Linked DNA regions of Homo sapiens: regions 1, 2 and 3 are each linked to region 4. The links are contacts of gene promoters, found by promoter capture Hi-C in blood cells and fetal thymus (Javierre and others, 2016). All regions are on one chromosome and are shown on one strand. Each heading gives the region's core, a stretch centred on a gene start or on the middle of the fragment in contact. The rest is flanking DNA. Distances are from core to core; before and after follow the strand shown. Region 1 has its middle 150 kb from the start of POTEA. Region 2 has its middle 170 kb from the start of POTEA. Region 3 has its middle 4.8 kb from the start of CHRNB3. Region 4 holds the start of POMK (protein O-mannose kinase).

The links. Contacts are between HindIII fragments. The CHiCAGO score rates a contact against its expected background, and 5 or more counts as called.
Region 1: a contact is called between a fragment that was not itself captured here and the fragment with the promoter of POMK in region 4, in 3 of 17 cell types (naive B cells, total B cells and M1 macrophages). The highest score is 11.0, in naive B cells.
Region 2: a fragment that was not itself captured here is called in contact with the fragment with the promoter of POMK in region 4 in 2 of 17 cell types (total B cells and naive B cells); the score reaches 5.2 in total B cells.
Region 3: a contact is called between a fragment that was not itself captured here and the fragment with the promoter of POMK in region 4, in 1 of 17 cell types (fetal thymus). The highest score is 5.1, in fetal thymus.

Annotation. Positions count from the first base shown.
Region 1 is chr8:43,441,784-43,445,169 of GRCh38, reverse strand. It overlaps the pseudogene LOC100420534. Among named protein-coding and RNA genes, the nearest start is that of POTEA, 150 kb to the right of the region's middle. The HindIII fragment of the contact is 8,326 bases long and covers 1-3,386 here.
Region 2 is chr8:43,463,278-43,466,280 of GRCh38, reverse strand. No RefSeq gene overlaps it. Among named protein-coding and RNA genes, the nearest start is that of POTEA, 170 kb to the right of the region's middle. The HindIII fragment of the contact is 467 bases long and covers 1,404-1,870 here.
Region 3 is chr8:42,690,911-42,694,244 of GRCh38, reverse strand. No RefSeq gene overlaps it. Among named protein-coding and RNA genes, the nearest start is that of CHRNB3, 4.8 kb to the left of the region's middle. The HindIII fragment of the contact is 2,184 bases long and covers 641-2,824 here.
Region 4 is chr8:43,092,136-43,095,407 of GRCh38, reverse strand. POMK (protein O-mannose kinase) reads right to left here and starts at 1,893. Exons shown (of 5, transcript NM_032237.5): 1 at 1,845-1,893. RefSeq lists a silencer at 1,656-1,865 and enhancers at 1,117-2,022, 2,023-2,929. The HindIII fragment of the contact is 4,326 bases long and covers 1-3,272 here.

The sequences.
Region 1 (3,386 bases), core at 186-2,685, 350 kb before region 4:
GTTTATTATGGCAAACCTCTGTAACTATTTTCAAACATGCAACAAAAGTTTAGTTTTGAAAACTGCCTTTATTATGAAGGTAGTGAGACAGAATTTTTTTTTTTTTTTTTTTTTTTTGAGACAGAGTCTTGCTCTGTCACCCAGGCTGGAGTACAGTGGTGTGACCTCGGCTCATTGTTACCTTCCTCTCCAAGAATCAAGCGATTCCCAGGCCTCAGACTCCCAAGTAGCTGGGATTACTGGCGTGAGCCACCATACCATGCAAATTTTTGTATATTTAGCAGAGATGGGGTTTCACCATTATTGGCCAGGCTGTTCTCAAACTCCTGACCTCAACTGATCTGCCCCTCCTCAGCCCCCTAAAGCGCTGGGATTACAGGTGTGAGCCACCATGCCTGGCCAAGACAGAAAATACTAATAGGCATGATGTTTGTTTTGGTAAATGTGTGTGTCTTTTTATTATTTTAACAAAGTTTTATTTTTTACATGGGGTTGCAGAAGTAAAGATGAGGTTAGTGTGGGAAAAAAAATTTTTAAACATATTTGATATGTCATATCACTGGTGGTAGTTTTTAAAGTCCAATGTTGACTTTATAAAAGTGTTTGTAACACTCTTTTAGTGTTAAAGTTATAAATTGATTATGGGTCTTTGCAAATATAAATAATGTTCATAAAAAAAATAAAAACACCTTTTTCTTGCTCCAGAGCTATACCATCAGGTAGATTAAAAGAAAATTTTTCTTACCTTCAATACAGAGGCTATCTCAAAAATAGATTCACAATCTAGGTTTACTTCACCTCCAGAATTTAATTTCTCATTTTCTGCAGGATTTTAAACTGGCTGCTTTCCTGAAGACACCTTTGGTGAGGGGTCCTTTTTGATTAAGAAAGAAAAGTACATCCAATAGGGAAACAAAGGAAATAAGCAAAATGGCATTTCACACATACAGACAAGGGAATACTTATCCTTTTTGGCACATACTTACCCCCTTTGGCTACCAGAGGCTATGGGGTTGTGCTAGGGTAAAAGTACTAAAAGATTGGGACTAAAAGAACAGCTAGAAAGATTCAAGTCAATTTTTTTGGGGAGCGCAATGGTGGTTACCAGGGGCTGGGGTGGTGGTGAGGTTGGGGAGATATTGGTCAAAGGATACAAAAGTTCAGTTAGATAGCAGAAGTAAGGTCAGGTGCTCTATTAAATAACATGATTACTATACTCAATAACAAGGTACTGCATTTCTAAAAATGGCTAAGAGAGTGGATTTTAAGTGTTCTCTAATTTTGCTTTCTTTGTATCAGTATGTCCTCTGCTTACAGTGCAGGAAGAGAATGGGTTTTGGAGACAAGCAATCTGTAGGATTTAAAACCTAGTTAGGCCACTTAGCTACTATGTATCCTTGAGTAAAGTACTGAGGCTTTTGAAAACACAGACCATGAAGTAGAGATGGTGACATAGTAAGAACCACCTCCTACGTTTGCTGTGAAGGATAAATAATAAGGTGGCTAGATGAGTGTCTGGCACTTATAGATGAACAATATAGCATTAAATGCCACACATCTAGTATAACACCTGAAGGATAATGAATACTCAATAAATGCTGCTTAGTAGTGATTCTTTAATATGTCAACTGGAAATAACTCAGTGGTTTTCATCTGACCCATTCTACAGACAAAAGATAAATGAATGCCAGGGAACGTACCTTTATGCTTAAGTACTTGACATATAAATAATAAAAGTTTTTAAAACTTAAGCATAACATTGAGTAGTCTCTGCTGCTACACTGATAAAAGAGGACTTTCATAACAATGTGGAGTTGAAGAAAGGATTTGTGTGAGAGAATGTGAATTCTCTGTCTAAAGAGAAAATTCTAATTTATCTGAGTAGGTTTATGTGGGTCTTTCCTGAAATCAGGAAACTATATGATCTCTCCCTATATGTCTTCCTTATGATTCTACAGTAGTTAAATCAGATTTTTAGCCAAAGACAGTGGCGTCTATAATTTTTCCATTTGGTGACATATTTACCTCTCAGAGCTCTCCTTTCCCAAACCCCCTTTCCCATTAGCTAACAGGTCAAGTGAGCCTTACCAGGACAGGTTTGAGCAGATTGTCATTCTCACACATATTTGGCAGAGAAACTCCAAAGAGCTGTCCAGGCATAGGTGATGTTGATGGTGCAGACACATTGTCCAGGCAAGTGCTAGAACCCCAGCAACAGCCCCAGTTTATGATAGATCCTCTTCTTTTAAATGTCTTCTGACCTGAGTCTAAGGAAGAAGTGAGCTTATTACAAAACCTAGTTTAATTCACTTAACCTTATTTCTATAACTTCCATTTTATGGCATGTTTGTTGCTATGGCTAAAAGAGGAAAAAGAATGCTTGTAGATGGCTTTTGTTATTGACAATTCAACATATAATATTTCACTAAAATATCTTACCAATGAAAGAAAAATCAATGAAGGAAGAATCAAATGTTTGGGTTCTTCTCCCATCAACTTTTGGAACATCACTGGTTTGTCTGAGTTTTGGCACTACAATTTCAAAGGTGAAGAAAAAAGACTCCCTTACTGATCTTTAACAATTTAAAGCAAAAAACATTTCATAATGACACATATATGTTTCCCCATTTTAAAGATGAGACTAAGCATACAAAAAAAGTTTAAATGAGACTATAATTAGTGAGAAAAAGAAAGTGAGAAGAGAGGAGGGACAAAGGAAGATAAAGGGGGAAGGGTAAGTAGGAGGAAGAGGACAAGATGAAAAAAGGAGGAAGAAAAAGGAAGAAGGAAGAGGAGGAAGAAGAAAGAGGAAAAATAACGAGGAGAAGGGAAAAGACAGTTTTCTCTGTCTAGATGTTCGCTAAAAATAAAGAATGCATTGTTAACTGATGTCCGATCCTACTATTGAGAACACAGACAGGAAACTAATGTCCTATTTTCTTTTCTTTCTGAGCAGCTGCAAAGATATTCTTTCTTTTTATTTTTTAGTTCCTGACTTTAGAAAGCATGTTTAAGGCAGCATGGATGGATGGAAATATGAGTGAGACTTGCCCTTACTGATGAAGTGTATGATCTAATAGGGACAAAGAACTGATTGTGGTGGGGAGAAAGCAAGTGTATTAATAAATCTAATGTCATAAGGTAAAAACAAAGTACCAAAGGCATTCAGATAAAAGTAAATCACGTCTGCTTAGGAGGAGGCAAGGGAGTGATCCTTGGAGGGTGTTTGCATTTGATTTGGATTTTGAATGAGCAATATTTCAACAGATGGAGAATCTATCATAGTGCTTTCCATCTGGTAAGTACTCAGTAACTCATTAGAAAACAAGAATTAAAACTGAGGAGGGATTTAAGTAAATAAATAGTAAGTATGAACAAAATAGGCA
Region 2 (3,003 bases), core at 388-2,887, 370 kb before region 4:
TTTCTTGATCAATTACCCAGTCTCAGGTATTTCTTTATAACAGTGTGAGCACAGACTAATATACTTTATTTCCATAAAAATTGCTTCTGCAATAGATATATGTCAAAAAGCCTAATATCCAAGACCCCACGTCACACACGACAAGAATCCAGCATACTATATGGCCTTCCACTTAGTTGCATATGCCAAATAACTAAGTAATCTATTTTCACATTAATTCTGAGTGTATATTTTTCTATGAAATTACTGATAAAAATATATTAATAAAATGTTTTATTTATATTCTTAATTTGTCATTCATCTATACTATTTACTATTCTGACTAGGTCAAATCTCTATAGAATAGGATCTATAAACTATTTTTGTAAAGGGCCAGATAGAACGTATTTTAGGCTTTGTGAGCCATTAGGCAAAATCAAATATATTATGCAGGTACCCATATAACCATTTAATGCAATTCTTAAAAATTTAATAAACCGTTCTTAGTTTGTGGTCTACATGAAAATGGTTTGTAGATGAGATTGTCTATGAGCTTTAGTTCACTGACCCCAGATAGAAAAACTTATAATAATATTTATTTCTTATTTATACATTTATTATACTTATTTTTAAATTTAAATAATGATGTTCTTTACAAGAATCAGTCTCTATAAACTCAGGAATTATATATAATCCAAACACTTAACACAGTGTTTTGTTTATAGTAAATGTTTAATAGATTTTAGTCTCTTTTCAATTTCACTACTCCTTTCCAGCTTTAGACCTTTGAGAGTGGAGGTGGGGCTTATTCATGTTTTGTTGCTAATACTCTTACAAATATTTACCCATATCAGAAGCATAGGAATGGGGTGTCTTGGAAAGATGAACAGTCACAATTAATTTTTCTTATTTTTAGAGGACACAGGCCTATGACTAGAAGCATCTTTGCATTAGTTTTGTTATCAGACATGGTGAAACTGGGATGAGGTCCATGTAAAACTACTGTCTACACAGTTTTTCCTCTATGAGAGAGCAGGAGAATTTAAATCACAATTCAACTCAAACTGCTATGCACTGATTTATATTACCTTCATTTTTTCTGGTAGGTTTCAAGTACTAAGCATTTTACTGAAGTAATATGTGTTTTACATATTTAAACTGAAAATATTATTCAATCACCATAAAACCCTGTCAACAAGGACAAGAAGACATTTCTTGTCACTTTCTCAAAAATCCCCACAGCTGCATTGTGTAGAGAGACAGGAAATTGGAAGGTGTTATATTTCAGAGGGATAGACTTTCCATCACCAAGGGAAATTAAAGTATTTCTTGAAGATTTTATATTTTAAACCAGTCTGTAATAATTAATATTAAATAATGTATTTAAGCATGTTGTCTGTGAGATGGAACATACCAATTAAGCTTGAGTGGTTGAAGGTATTCTACTGTGTTTATGACCTAATGACATTTGTATTTTAAATCATGAACTGTGAGAAGTAAATTTATGTTGTTTATAAGTCACCTAGTCCATGGTATTTTGGTATGGAAGTCCAAATGGACTAAGATGACAACCAAAATATTCTTTTTATTTATGCATTTTATTTTATTATTGGAGAATTTTTGCCGTACACTAAGTGGCCCATGACATTTACTAGAGGGGATTATTTTAGCAAGTGTAGTACCCATGAGGCCAATGTTGTGAGTTCTTTGTCAATTACTTACTTATTTTTCTTCATCTGTTTCTGAAAGTAATCCAAAAGCATTTTAAAGGCACAGAAATAATTTAAAAATTAGAAAAATTTAAAAACCTTATAGAAAATAGTGGAAATGGTTTCCATAAACCTGATGCAAGTTGGTTATTGATGTTATATTATGATTTAATTCTGAAGCTTCTGGTAGCAACAGCAAAAATAGGAAAAATAATGGGCTCTGTCATTTTATTGCCCAATAAAAATAGCTTTGGGGAAAAAAGTCCTTTTTCAGTTTTAAATTATGAGCATTTATCATTTGAATCTTTTTATGAGAGGAACTGAATAACATGATGAATATTGTTCTGCAAACACATAATCTAGTAGGTTGTTTTTATTTTTCACACCTCCAACCCCTTCTTTAAGAAAGTGCTTCTCCCTCAGCTCCAACCAAGAGGCTCCAGTGAAAGACACTGCATTCTTACTTGGTTGCAAGTCATTGGTCTAAGAGAAAAAAATCTGGTCACTTATTGTGAGTTTTTAAACTTGTTTATAAGTCACCTAGTCCGTGGTATTTTGGTATGGCAGTGCAAATGGACTAAGATGACAACCAAAATATTACTTTTATTTATGTATTTTATTATTGGAGAATTTTTGCGATACACTAAGTGGCCCATGACATTTACTAGAGGGGATTATTTTAGCAAGTGTAGTATCCATGAGGCCAATGAAGAAATCTATTTGGTTGTTCAAGTCATAGACTATAAAATTGTGAACAATAAATGTTTATATTTTCCACAATATAAATATACTGAGTGTGATAAAAATTGAGCTGGTATTCTGACAGAAACCAATCAAAGAGAGATACAGACAGCATTGTTGGCATTTGAGTCCACAGTTCAAATCCTTACAAAATTTCTTTCTTTCTTTTTTTTTTTTTTTGGAGTTGGAGTCTCGCTCAATCGCCCAGGCTAGAATGCAATGGCACGATCTCAGCTCACTGCAAGCTCTGCCTCTTGGGTTCATGCCATTCTCCTTCCTCAGCCTCCCAAGTACCTGGGACTACAGGCACCCACCACCACGCGTGGCTAATTTTTTTTGTAGTTTGTATTTTTGGTAGAGATGGGGTTTCACCATGATTGCCAGGATGATCTCGATCTCCTGACTTTGTGATCTGCCCATCTTGGCCTCCCAAAGTGCTGGGATTACAGGCATGAGCCACCACGCCTGGCCACAAAATTTCTTTTTATCATGGTTTCCCTGCTCATATTATTTAACCATTCCTGTGGGCTCTACAGACAAGTAAACTTTCCATTTGGTCTAAAGTAAATGTATT
Region 3 (3,334 bases), core at 483-2,982, 400 kb after region 4:
GAAAAACAAAATCACATTGAGGTATTTATTTAATTAATTGCCTTAACTGCAAAGAATACAACTACATGATACTGACAGTCACTTGGTCACCCTACGAATGGCACTCCTAGCAGCACCCCAGCCTGTCTGGAGCCGTCTTAGGGCACTGTTTTGTTTAGGACAACACAGTTAGGAAGTTAAATATGTTTATTGTGGGGACATCGAGAGACCCGGGATCTAGAAAGGAAGACTTATGAGAAAAGATTAAAAAGCAAGGAGTTTAGATGAGAAAAAAAGAAGCCTGGCTGTGCACGGTGGCTCACGCCTATAATCCCAGCACTTTGGGAGGCCGAGGCAGGCAGATCACAGGAGGTCAGGAGTTTGAGACCAGCCTGGCCGACATGGTGAAACCCTATCTCTATTACAAATACAAAACTTAGCTGGGCGTGGCAACCCGTGCCTGTAATCCCAGCTACGCTACTTGGGAAGCTAAGGCAGGAGAATCGCTTGAACCCGGGAGGTGGAGGTTGCAGTGAGCCAAGATAGCGCCATTTGCACTCCAGCCTGGGGGACAAGAGCGAAACTCTGTCTCAAAACAAAACAAAAACAAAAAACAAAAAAAAACAAGTCTAAGGGAACTGTCTTTCCTCTATAAAAAGCTTACTTGTGAGTTACCTGCTCCTCACCAACACCTGGGGAGGTGAAGTCACAGTGAGGTGGGGGCGGGATTGGGGCTGGGACCACACCTCCCACAGCCCAGTGCTCTCACCGTCTCTGTACCATGATACTTAATAAGCAATCCCACTAACCAGAGTGTGCCAGTTTATCATGGAGAGAACACACTCCCTGCCTTCTGGAGGTCCATGAGCTCCCCCTTCCTCAGTCACCCATCAGGGTTTACCAGTGCTCCCTTCCTCGGGGCCTTCCTTATGTCTAACCTCAGTCATTCCTGCTGTAGCCTGCCTGGCTCTAAGCCAGCCAGCATTTCAAATACTCCGATCCTCTTCTCACTACCAGTAGGGAGGTTTTGTGGGAGGGAGCAGGGATGCTGTCAGCGTTCACAGGATTCAGAAGGTCTGGATTCAGGATCCAAAGTATCTGAATTTGAAATTCTCACTGCCCTCCTAAATAACCTCTCATCTCTTGATGCCTAAAATTTCACTCTAGAGGTAATTGTTTTGGTTTAAATCTTATTACATCCACCACTGGGCAGGATAACACTTTAATCCAATCAGCCAACCCTTTTTCTTCCTGGGCTCTATCCACACAAATGACATTTTTTCAATAGCCACACCTCTCACTATTGGTAGAGATGGGAAAACCATGGCTTTTATTTTTTAGGCAGAGACAGGGCCTTGCCATGTTGCCCAGGCTGGTCTTGAACTCCTGAGCTCAAGAGATCCTTCCACCTCGCCCTCCCAAAGTGCTGGGATTACAGGCGTGAGCTACCGTACCCGGCTTTTAAATAAGTGTCCAATTCTTTCCTGGGATCAGACCTCAGAAGCCGCAGGCTCCTGGACGCGCTGCACGGCCTCCCTGGGCTGGGCCTTGCGGGGGCCTTAGACCAGGGTGAGTTGTGGGGCTCGGGTGCCCTCTGGTGGCTCACTCCTCACACTGCAGGCCTTTAACCTTTAAAGGGTGTGTGCTTCAGACGGTATTTGCTCCTCAAATTTTAAATAAAAAGGTAGTAACAGCCCGAGTAAATCACAAACTAAGCACTGGAAGGCAATGGGCTGTTGGTTTAACAGCTCTGCCCTTCCACGTACCGCTTGCCAGGAGGGCAGCACAAACCCAGAAGAGCTGTAGCCGAGAAGGCCCGCGCGTTCCTCAAAGGGGAGAGTTGGTGCCCGGGACCCAGCTGGAATCAATCGCTGGGCCGCAGCCCGGGGGAACCCAGGTGTGCGCGGGAAGAAGCGTTCGAACAGAAAGAAACCGTCTAAATGGATCACATGAGCAGCGTTTCCCAAACCTCCCTGTGCTTCCCAACCATCTGGCGAGCTTTCAAGAAACACGAATTCGGCTGGGCGCGGTGGCTCACACCTGTAATCGCAGCACTTTGGGAGGCCGAGGCAGGCAGATTACCTGAGGTCAGGAGTTCGAGACCAGCCTGGCCGACATGGTGAAACCCCGTCTCTACTAAAAATACGAAAATTAGCCGGGCATGGTGGTGGGCGCCTGTAATCCCAGCTACTCGGGAGGCCGAGGCAGGAGAATCGCTTGAACCCGGGAGGCGGAGGTTGCAGGTGAGCCGAGATCGCACCACTGGCGACAGAGCGAGAGTACGTCTCAAGAAAGAAGAAAGGAAAGAAAGAAAGGAGGGAGGGAAGGAAGGAAAGAAAGAGAAAAAGACGAATTCCTGGTTGTTTTCCACTGCAATTCTGATCCGGTGGTCTGGAACAGGGCCTGGGCTCTCTGAGAGCAGCCAGGGTCCCAGACCCTGACCGCGCTGGCCGCCTTTTCCAAGTGAAACCTCCGCAAAGACCAGGAGGAAAGGCTTAGTGGCCGCAGGGCCCGATCACACTGAAGCACCATGTGCCAGGAGGGTGCCCGTGACCAGGAAGATCCCGGAGATATGGGGGGCACTGGGAGGGGCGCGGAGTGCAGCACGGGACCCCTGGTTGAAGAGGGGCGCCTCGCCTCTCCTTTCATCCTTCAGTCGTTGTTTCTTTTTTGAGGCTTCCCCTCATCTTGTCTGACTGACAGGAGCGTCCACACTTTGTCCTCGCCGCCGCCACCGTTCCTCAGGGCTGCAGCCTGGTCGGAGGACCAGGAAGTGTCCTGCTCAGACTGGCCAGGCACTAAAGTCTGCTTTTCCACCACGATAGGCTTTGGGTTTGAAGAAGCTTTGTCCCAGCAACTCTGGGTGCGGATGGGCCAAACAGGCTGCGGGTGTATTGGGCTTCTGGCCCCGGTCAGCCACCCCAGTGTCCACAGCAGATGGACGCCCAGAGCTGAGGGGACAGAGGGCTGCCATCAAACTGCTGGGGCCACGTCTGTAAATCAGAGCAAAGGCAATCCCTGGGCAAGGAGTAGGGGCTGAATCTGATCCCTGAGCAAGGAGTAAGGGCTGAATTTGAAAGATCAGCCTCGGGACTGCTGAACTAAGAACAGTGTGGGGAGGAAGATCAGGAGGGAGCAGAGAAGGACAGGCCTGGGATCCCCCCACCCCCCAACAAACCCTGCTGGAAGCTCAAAGCGCTGCTTTATTGAAGGCCAGACTGGTGGTGTGTGGGTGCCTTGCCCTGATTAACAGCACTGGGGTCGACTGCAGGTAATGAGTCAGTAATTAACATCTATAAAAAGACTGTGTCCTATGCAAAGGACACTGGCCTAAGAATCCGGAACTCTGAGCTTG
Region 4 (3,272 bases), core at 644-3,143:
TCTGAATCCTCTCTCGGCAAAAACAAACCAAACCAAACCAAAACAAAACAAATAAAAAAAATACCCCAAAATTCATTTGACTTTTATACACTGTCAACTTCACACCAATTCTGTGAAGTGGATGTAATTGTTGTTATTCCCATTTCACAGATAAGACAACTGAGTCAGAGGTGAAGTAATATATCTAAGGTCACTGAACTATACACAGAAGAGCCAAGTTTTCTGGCCTCAAGCCCATTCTTCCCCTAAATACCGCAATGCTCGGGAGTTGAACTAAATCAAACCCAGCGTGGTCAGCTAGGGGCTGGGCTGGGGTACCCTGGGACTGCCGGTTTCTTAAAGAAGACTTCAGCCCACCTCAACCCCGATTTGCTTTTTTGTTTCACAGGCATATTCTGGAGTAGGCCGCCCAGAGCATAGCATGAGGCTGTGTGGCTAAAGGAACTTTCGTGTCCAGAAGTAAGCAAAAACCACTGAAATTTACTGGTCCTGAAAACAGCCTGCACATTAAGGAATAAAGATGGTGGGGCAGGTTGGGCAGAAGAAATTCAGGCACGACTGAAATGCAAAGCATTTCTGACACTGATAGGAAGGCTTATTGATAGAGAAAGGCTTGGGACCCACTGCTCCACATTTACAGCTTAAAAAGAAAAGAAAAGCAAAGGGACAAAACTAGTTTTTACCGACTTACAAGATATTTTCTACAACTAGGGAAGACACAGAGTAATGTCATCCAATACAGTTTAGAGTAGAATTCCATTGCGCCAATAAAGCACAAGGTACATTAAGAGGATTATTTTAAATATTCTGAACGCTTATTTAGCCTTAAGGTTCTATAGCAAAGGCAAAGGGTGGCAAAGACAAGATTATGCAACAAAACAGCGAAATTTTGCTTTCTAAAAAAAAGAGAATATGATTACACTTAACACCTCCTGGCAACAATGATCTCGTGCAGAATAAACACCCAAAGGCAAAGAGCTGAGACAGAGTCCTCGGTCCTTTCTGGTTTTTTTGTTTTTTGTTTTGTTTTGGTTTGGTTTGGTTTTTGTTTTTTTAAACAGAGACAGCCTCTGCCGGACCCAGTAGCTCACGCCTGTAATCCCAGCACTTTGGGAGGCAGAGGCGGGCGGATCACCTGAGGTCAGGCGTTCGAGACCAGCCTGACCAACATGGGGAAACCCCGTTTCTACTAAAAATACAAAAATTAGCCGGGCGTGGTGGCGGACGCCTGTAATCCCAGGAGCCAAGACCGCGCCACTACACTCCAGCCTGGGCGACAGAGCGAGACTCCGTCTCAAATAATAATAATAATGATAAAGTAATAATAATAGAAACAGCCTCTCACTCTGGCCCCCAGGCTGAAGTGCAGTGGCGCGATTTCGGCTCACTGAAACCTCCGCCCCCGCCGGGTTCAAGCATTCTCCCGCCTCAGCCTCCGGAGTAGATAAGACTATAGGCGGCGCCACCGCGCCCGGCTAAGTGCTTTTTTACGGAGACAGAAGTTCCGCCATGTTGCCCAGGCTGCTCTCGCCTGAGCTCACGCGATCCTCCCGCCTCGGCCTCCCAAAGCGCTGGGATTACAGGCTGGAGCCACCTCGCCGGGCCCTTCTCTGGTTCTTTAACGTCCCGCTACCGCGCAGGGGTGGACGCGGAGATAGGGGCTGGGCGCGGTGGACACGGCCGCTCAGGCCCAGCGCAGCCTCCTAGGGAGCCTCCGGACAGGCCGCGGGCAGGCGGCCGGGGCTGCGGGGGGTGCGGCCCAGGCCACGTACAGGGTCCCCCGGGAAACCCAGCTGCACGCCCCCTCGCCCCTTCGCCCTCTCACCCCTCGCCGCAGCACCTACCTGCAGCCCAAGCCTCTGCGGCTCCTGCCACCCCGGGCCAGCACGCACTGGGCCTACTGCGCTTGCGCGTTCGGAAGCGCGTCCTGGGCGGGTGAGCGTGGCGCTGCTGCCCCCTGGCGTCCTCCTCCGGCCGTGCACTGAAGCCGGAGCGAACGCCGCGGCGGTACCAGCGCGCACCTACCCAGTCTCCCTGTCTGGCTTCTGCTTCCCTAACTTGGGAGAACGATTTTGTGTTGACCGACTATTGCTTCAGCCTGGAGCCAGGCTCATGCAGAGCAGCTGTCAGATCTAGACGCACTGCGAGGCCTTCCAAAGCGTAGTCCTCAGACCCGCGGCATCTGCAGGGACCTTGCTGGAAAGGCTGATTCCCAGCTCCGGCCCAGACCCGCCACTCGGGGACCCAGATGCCTGAAGTTGGACAATCGCTCTGTAAAAGAAACTGTGGGGCTTAGCCTAGACGCAGTAAAGCTGAGCTGCACACATCAAGCGCAGCAGACAAGACCTTGGCAAGCCTCCGCGGAGGGGCAGGACTGGGCAAAGGCGGGGAAGTCCGTCGAGGGCCGGCCAGGAGCCCTGCCGGGAGCCCAACACGCACTCGGGCGCTTGCTCCGGGAAACCGAAAGGGAGGCTTGCAGCATCGAAGTCAGCTGGGTCATGGAACGTCTAGGTTGTGTACATCGGAAGCGTTAGCTGCTTCTACACTGACACACTGCGAAAGTCCAGAATCAAGACAGTAACATGGTGTGGGTTAAAAAAACTGAGCCGGTACTAGCTATCCAAACAGTATTAAAATTAACAGAAACGTTTGCCTATCACATGGACAAACAGCGGTAATACCTCCTGTCGTTACAGTAGAGTCTGAAAGTTTCCTCACACATACAAGTGAGTGTAAATTGGAATTCCTCCTACGTGCCCTAGCAAATCCATTTCTAGGAATTTATCCTTCAGAAATAACGTCTGTGGCCGGGCGCCGTGGCTCATGCCTGTAATCCCAGGACTTTGGGAGGCCGAGGTGGGCGGATCACGAGGTCAGGAGACCGAGACCATCCTGGATAACACGGTGAAACCCCGTCTCTACTAAAAATACAAAAAATTAGCCGGGCATGGTGGCGGGCGTGAGAATGGCGTGAACCCGGGAGGCGGAGCTTGCAGTGAGCCGAGATCGCGCCACTGTACTCCAGCCTGGGTGACAGAGCGAGACTCCGTCTCAAAAAAAAAAAAAAAAAAAAAGAAAAAGAAATAATATGTCTGCAAGATGTATGCACAAGAGATCTTGCTGAAGCATTGCTGATAAAAGATATTTATAATAGAGAAAAAAAGAAACCTGAATGTATAACAATAGGGGTTTCTGAAAGAAATTATATTACATCCACATAGCCATGAAAAATACTAACGGGTGCACAGTTTCAGTGTGAGAAGATGGTAAAG